2 separate regions of the Homo sapiens genome follow, and region 2 is linked to region 1. The links are contacts of gene promoters, found by promoter capture Hi-C in blood cells and fetal thymus (Javierre and others, 2016). All regions are on one chromosome and are shown on one strand. The core of a region is centred on a gene start or on the middle of the fragment in contact, and the rest is flanking DNA. Distances in the headings are between cores, read along the strand shown. Region 1 holds the start of C2orf81 (chromosome 2 open reading frame 81). Region 2 overlaps DGUOK (deoxyguanosine kinase).

What was found. The method cuts DNA at HindIII sites, captures the fragments that hold promoters and counts their contacts. A CHiCAGO score of 5 or more calls a contact.
Region 2: a fragment that was not itself captured here is called in contact with the fragment with the promoter of C2orf81 in region 1 in 1 of 17 cell types (total B cells); the score reaches 5.2 in total B cells.

What each region holds. Positions count from the first base shown.
Region 1 is chr2:74,420,000-74,423,429 of GRCh38, reverse strand. C2orf81 (chromosome 2 open reading frame 81) reads left to right here and starts at 1,811. Exons shown (of 3, transcript NM_001316764.3): 1 at 1,811-1,887. The coding sequence starts at 1,870. It overlaps WDR54 (WD repeat domain 54), which reads right to left and starts at 1,700. Exons shown (of 10, transcript NM_032118.4): 1 at 1,614-1,700; 2 at 1,055-1,277; 3 at 498-560; 4 at 45-111. The coding sequence starts at 1,276. RefSeq lists an enhancer at 1,021-1,200 and a silencer at 1,601-1,880. The HindIII fragment of the contact is 12,224 bases long and covers 1-2,814 here.
Region 2 is chr2:73,931,607-73,935,036 of GRCh38, reverse strand. All of the region lies in intron 1 of DGUOK (deoxyguanosine kinase), which reads right to left. Among named protein-coding and RNA genes, the nearest start is that of DGUOK, 6.4 kb to the right of the region's middle. The HindIII fragment of the contact is 872 bases long and covers 1,317-2,188 here.

The sequences.
Region 1 (3,430 bases), core at 562-3,061:
TAGCAAACACTCCCTGCCCCCACCCCACTTGGTCCTGCAGGTACCTGGGGAGGCATCTCCAGAGTCCAGTGCATGCCAGTAGACCATGGTGTAGCCATTGGACTCGTACATCTGGAAGACCGGGGCAAGAACCAGGGGGCATAACCCAACTGACCTCTGCTGAGTACTTCACATATCCGTGTTAGCCTTAGCCCATTTAATCCTCAAAACAAATCTGGGATGTAGGTACTATTTTTATCCTAATTTTTTCAGAGGACAACAGTGAGAGTGAGAAGTTAATAGTGTAAGGACATACAGCTAGTAAAGGGGCAGATACTGGAGGTGGCACTTGGAAACTGGAAAAGATGGAAAGATTGAAGATAAGAAATAGAAAAAGAGTGAGTGGGCCAAGCATGTGAAAAGTCTGGAAGTGTTTAGAGGCAAGTGGGAAAGTCTGGAAGCCTGGCAGGGAAGCTGAGAAGGCTCTGGTGGGGCAAGCAGGAGAGTCCTCTTCTTACCTGTATTCCTCGATGTGAGGTGAGTACCAGCAGCACTCGGAAGGGGAGGACACACCAGTGGACCTGGAGGGAGGTGCATCAGTGTAGGGAGAAAATCAAAGCAGGGAAGATGAGTTTGTTTGTTTTTTTTTTTTTTTTGGGGGACGGAGTCTTGCTCTGTGGCCCAGGCTGGAGTGCAGTGGCGCCATCTCGGCTCACTGCAACCTCAGCCTCCTGGGTTCAAGCGATTCTCCTGCCTCAGCCACCCAAGTAGCTGGGATTACAGGTGCACGCCACCACACCCGGTTAATTTTTTTTGTATTCTTAGTAGAGAAGAGGTTTCACCATGTTGGCCAGGCTGGTCTCGAACTCCTGGCCTCAAGTGCCCGTCTCAGCCTCCCAAAGTGTTGGGATTACAGGCGTGAGCCACCGCGCCCGGCAGGAGAGGGGAGATTCTGAGGTTAGGACATGCCTGGGGAGATTCTGAGGTTAGGACATGCCTGCTCCTGAAGGTTTGGAGAGAAAAGGCTGGGGGTAGGACTGGGTTCAGCAACATCACTCCCAGCTCCATGCCTCACCTGAGTGATAAGTGGGGGACTCACTCCAGCACCCTCCTTAGCGTGGAGCTGGCGCTGGGCCAAGGGCACACCCTCAGGAGCAGCGCTGAGAAGCTGGGCGCTTGGTCCATGAACCACGCCAAAATACGTGAGGTTGCGAGCCGGCAGCTGCAGCACACTGAGGTTGTTGCACAGGGCGGCGGCCGAGCCTCGCAGGGGAATGGAGCGCTCCCAGCGGAACATCCTGTGTGGGGGTGCAGCCGAATCACCAGGCGCGCTACAAACAGACGCAGCGGAGATGCCCGAGGGCGGCTATCATCGAGCATTTCGGAAGATGCCTGAGACTGGGTCATAGGATGGGGTGCCCAGAGGACGGTGATGGGGGAGGGTCTCGAGGAGCAAGACAGGGGAGTCCCAGGGCTGTTTTGGGGCGACGGGGGAATCGCAGAGGAGGAATGGGGATGACACAGGACCACCCGATGGCCCCAAGCCCGCGAGCCAAATAAGTGTGATGAAGCCCCCAAGGCTTTCTCCCTCGGCTCGGATCCCTGAAGCCCCCGGCCTAGATCAGAGGTAACACCTGCAGCCCCAGATCGGCTCGCCTGACTCCTGGTTCGTAGGGTCCCTCCAAATCCGCCGCCACCATAGAGACGACGCACGTACGCACGGCCCTTGGGCGGGGTGAGCGGCCGGAACGTGCCGCGGGCGGCGCGGTTGCCGGGGCAACTGTGGGCGGGGCGAGCGACCCCGAGCCCGTGGTTGCCCAGGCGACTGTTAGGTGGCTTACGCGGCCCGGATGCAGCAGAAACACCAGCGTTGCTGCGACCGCGTTGGCGATGGCGCACGAAGGCTCGGTGAGCTTCAGTTCAGCTGGGGATGCGCCAGAGCCAGGGTCGGCCGTTAAGGTCGGTGTCGGGAACAGTGGGCTGGCTCTGGGCCGCCCAGTGCCCCTACTTGCTCCCGCCCACCGCGCGGGAGTTTAGATGACCAAGGAAGCCACGTCGGTACTCGGGCAGAAAACCTACACCTGCACGGTGCCCACTCAAACGCTTTGTTACACTCAAGCCATGAGGGAAAGGGTCAGTGGGTGGTGTAGAGCCCGAGAACAGGAAGTGGATTTTGAAACAGCTAATGAATGTAGTAAGTCTCTTACATGGTGGTGCGTATTTAAATGGATGAGCATTTAGAGAGGGAAGATAACAGAAAAAATCTATTTCGAGAATTTCAAGAGGAAGAAATATATTAAATAATTCAGAGACTGCACTTGAAAGTCAAATTGTTTAAGAGCCAATCAATTTTAAAATAAAGAAAACGGGGCCGGTCTCAATGGCTCATGCCTGTAATCCCAGCACTTTGAGAGGCTGAGGCGGGAGGATTGCCTGAGCTCAGGAGTTCAAGACCAGCCAGGCCAACATGGCGAGACCCCGTCTCGACTAAAATACAAAAAATTAGCTGGATGTGGTGGCGCGGTGCCTGTAATCCCAGCTACTCGGGAGGCAGAGGCAGGAGAATTGCTTGAACTCGGGAGGCGGAGGTTGCAGTGAGCCGAGATCGCGCCACTGCGCTCTAGCCTGGGTGACAGAGAGAGACTGTCTCAAAAAAAAAAAAAAAAAAAAAAAAAAAAGAAGAAGAAGAAAGAAAACGGATTTGAAGAGCCTTTGTGCAAAAATATCTCTGTCCCTTCTGGTCACCATCACGGGTGTCAGATGCGAGGCTGGGAGGGGAGGTCTAAGGAAACAACTCTCTTTACTCAGTCCAGTCAGCCCTGCTCTAGTCAAGCTTGGCCTGGGCTATGGGCCACTCCTGGTGCTTGCTACAGGGCTGTTCTCACTGGTGGATAGGGTTAATGAGACTTCAGGGATTTTGAGTTCTGCAAGACTTAGGAAACAGCAGATTTGGGGGGATAATGAATTTTAGGAAACAGATATGAGACAAGGTTTTAGCGGGGCAATAGGCAAAGGTTTGGGAAGATCACATTTGGAAGTACATTTTGGAAGGAACCAGGTTCAGGGAGACTGTTGTGGGGAATTGAGGGAGCTCCCAAGAGATTGTTTGTAAACTTTTTATGTCTCTAAAGTGAGTTTTGGGGACTAGTCTTTTTTTTTTTTTAAGTGATTACAAAAGGAAACAAACTCATTGTAGAGAACTTACAAAATAGAAAAGAGCATAGGAAGGAAACGTATCCTCTGTTATCATTTTGAAGTTTTCCTTTTGTTGAACACATAGTGGTTTACATATATGAGATCATAATTGATGTGTAAGTTTGTATCCTGCTTCTTTCAATTAACGTTACATCATAAACATTTGCTTTATGCCATTGCAAATTCTTTCTAAAGATTACCTTTAATGGCTGGGTTGGTGGCTCATGCCTGCAAGGTGGGCAGATCACTTGAGGCC
Region 2 (3,430 bases), core at 503-3,002, 490 kb after region 1:
TGGCACAATCTCGGCTCACTGCAACCTCTGTTTCCTGGGTTCAAGCGATTCTCCTGCCTCAGCCTCTTGAGTAGCTGGGACCACTACAGGTGTGTGCCACCACGCCCGGCTAATTTTTGTATTTTTGGCAGATACAGGGTTTCACCATGTTGCCCAGGTTGGTCTCAAACTCCTGAGTTCAAGCGATCCACCTGCCTTGGTCTCCCAAAGTGTTGGGATTACAGGCGTGAGCCACTGCGCCGGGCCACTGCTGTTATCTTTCTTTCCTTTTTTTTTTTTTTTGAGACAGAGTCTTGCTCTATTGCCCAGGCTGGAGTGCAGTGGGGTGATCTCGGCTCACTGCAACTTCCAACTCCCGGGTTCAACTGATTCTCCAGCCTCTCAGCCTCCCGAGTAACTGGGACTATAAGCACGTGCCACCACACCTGACTAATTTTTGTATTTTTAGTAGAGACAGGGTTTCGCCATGTTGGCCAGGCTGGTCTTGAACTCCTGACCTCAGGTGATCTGCCCGCCTCAGCCTCCCAAAGTGCTGGGATGACAGGGGTTAGCCACATCGCCCGGCCTGTCTTTCAATATACTCTCAGTATTATGAATTTTGGAAGGTATCAGAACTTACAAGCAGCATCAAACCTTCCCTTAGGACCCTGGCCACCAGTGTTCTCTGTTGTTATATTGCCACAACCTTAAAAAAAGGTGGAAGGTACTTTCTTAAGAGTATATTACTTCAACATGTTGATTTTCATTAGCTCCACTATTCTCATTCCACAAGCTGGGACAAAGAGTTCTGTTGTTACCACTCATCTTTTTCTAAGGCATGTTTTTTTCTCCCCACAAAATTTTCTATAAACTGACAATGCCTACCATAGCTATGTAATGCTAAAATCTAGCAGCAAGATAGCATATGATGTAATACCCAAAATAACAGATCCCATTATTTTACGTCTAATACAGCTGTATTTCATAGGAGCCTATATTTATCACCTCTAGGCATTTTCATCTCCTGAACAAGATGAAAAACATGAGAAAAAAAATCCAATTCTGAAATCTTTTACCAAAATCCAACAAAGTCAGAACATATAAAACTGTCTAATGTCTTTTTTAAAAAGTCCTTCCAAAAAAAATTGAAGTCTTTATTTCAGATACTGTATTTGATGCTGCATTCATTCACTCACTCATTCAATCAACAAATGTTTATGGAGTAGCTACTCAGAGGTAAGTACTATAACTGAAATGATGATCTAGGCTGAGAGCTTGCCCTCAAGTTATATTCCAACCCCAAGACTGAGTACCCAGGATCATACAGGCTCCAAGCTTAAAGGCATTCTAGGCAAAGTTAATAAAAATCAGTCAGCAGGCTTAAAAAAAACTTAATACATTTTACTTTGATGACCTTTTTTCATGAAAAACTGTTTACGAAAAAAAAAAGGCAAAAAATTTTCTCACACCTTCCTATGATCCAAACTCATCTGCTCAGCACAAAAGACCCTCACTGATCTGACATCCCCTCCTCCCGCCTTGCCTACCAGGTGATTCAGCTTTCCACTGCCACCTTCTCTGTGAAGCCTCCTTGAACTCTCTCCAGCGCCACTTCATCTCTAGGCAGAGTTAATTACTGCCTGCTCTGGTTTACCAAAGGATTACGCTGTAATTATTTGTTCACTCATCACTCCCTCCAGCTAGACTGGGAGCTCACTTTTGAAGACAGAGACTGAACCTTTGCATCCTGAGTATGAGAACAGTGATGGAGGGAAGGAGGTGAGTCACAGGCACAGAGAATCCACTATACAGTATTTGAAATAAATAGGCTATTTTTTCCCAAGGATTCTTTGCCCAATCATTTATACTTAAAATAAGTAAGACACATATTAGTGATGTGAAGTCACTAATTTTGAATGCTGGAGGAAACATGTTATTAGGGAAGCCCTCTACTGCTTTATGTTTAAGTTTCTTGATTGAAAAGTGCAAAAGAGTTTCCTCTTTTCTGGTTGGGTCTTTGAAAATAAGGTAAAAATGCTGAGATGACTCACTGACAGTGAGATTTCATACAGCAATCTTTTCTTCAATTTACGCTTGTAATCGTAAGATAATCACAAGAAGATGATAATACACTGTAGGGATGAACAGTCTTAAAAGACAGGCTAGGTGTTTTATTTTTTAGATTTTCAGGGGTTCTAGGTACCAAGCTTTTGACTTTCAATCACACATCTTATATGGCTTCGTAAGTCATGCTAGATGCCATTAGTTGCTACTTCACTGATCAATTTTCCTTACATGCCGCTGTCTGCACCTTCAGGATCAGAATAATAGGACTTAGAGCAGAAGGAATACAAGAAAAGCCCTCTAAACATACCCAATTTTGGTCAGGACAGGGGTTCACCTTCCCTGTTCAGGTTTCCTGAATGGGTGCTCTCATTCTGATTTGCTTGAGGATGTTACCTGTGATTAGAGAAGATGATCACTCTTGATTTAAAAAGCAGTTTAATACATTCCCTGTGTGGGTACCAATGCCTAACTTCCACATGGATATCATAGCACAGGATTCAAGAATCTGGTCAGTACTGAGTACACTGGGTCAAGGCGGGGGTTAGGTGTCAGCAATACAAAGATGAACAGCACACTGAGTGGTCAGAGCCCAAGGAAGGTGGTGAATGTGCAAACAAGCTCAGCAGAACTCAAGTGCTGCAGCAGTTGTGGGTACAAAATGTTATGTCAGCCCACAGAGGAGGCAGTGACTAATTCTGTCTAGGGAGAGTCATCAGGGTGTGTGGGGTGATGAAGAGTAGTGGGAGATGAAAGTAAAAAGAGTCAGATTAGGTCCTCCCATTCCACTTCGCATCACCCTTTTCTTGGGCAATTGCATTTACTTCCAAGGCTTCACCAACTACCCCTCTACCCACCAGTCAACAACTTCCACATCTGAAATCTCAGCACCCATCTCCGGACTCTCTTGACCTCAGGCACATATTCCAATCTGTCTCAGAACACCTCTATGTCTCACAGGCACCTCATACAAAACATATCACTCTAACCTCCCCAGACCGCCTCTTCCTTTATTCCCATCCTCATGAACCTCAGTGTCACCCTCCTCTACTCCTCCTCCTACCTCACCTCCAAGTGGCCACCACATCCTGTCAATCCCGCTTCCAAAATCTCTCTGAAACCGTCACTTCTCTGTCATTTCAGTTCTTCTATTCAGGCCTGCATCTTTCCTCCCTCCAATTACTCCAATAGCCACAAAACTAGTGCACAGACTCAACTCTGTTCCAATTCATCTATTCATTCATCCAACAAACTGGATGCAAGGCACTATGGGTACTGCAGCAAACAAAATATACAAAGAAAGTGCCTGTTTTATGGAGCTTTCTTTCTCATCCTACACAATTTCCTTTTTTAAATTAATCTGGTCATGGCACACACTGGCTTCAAG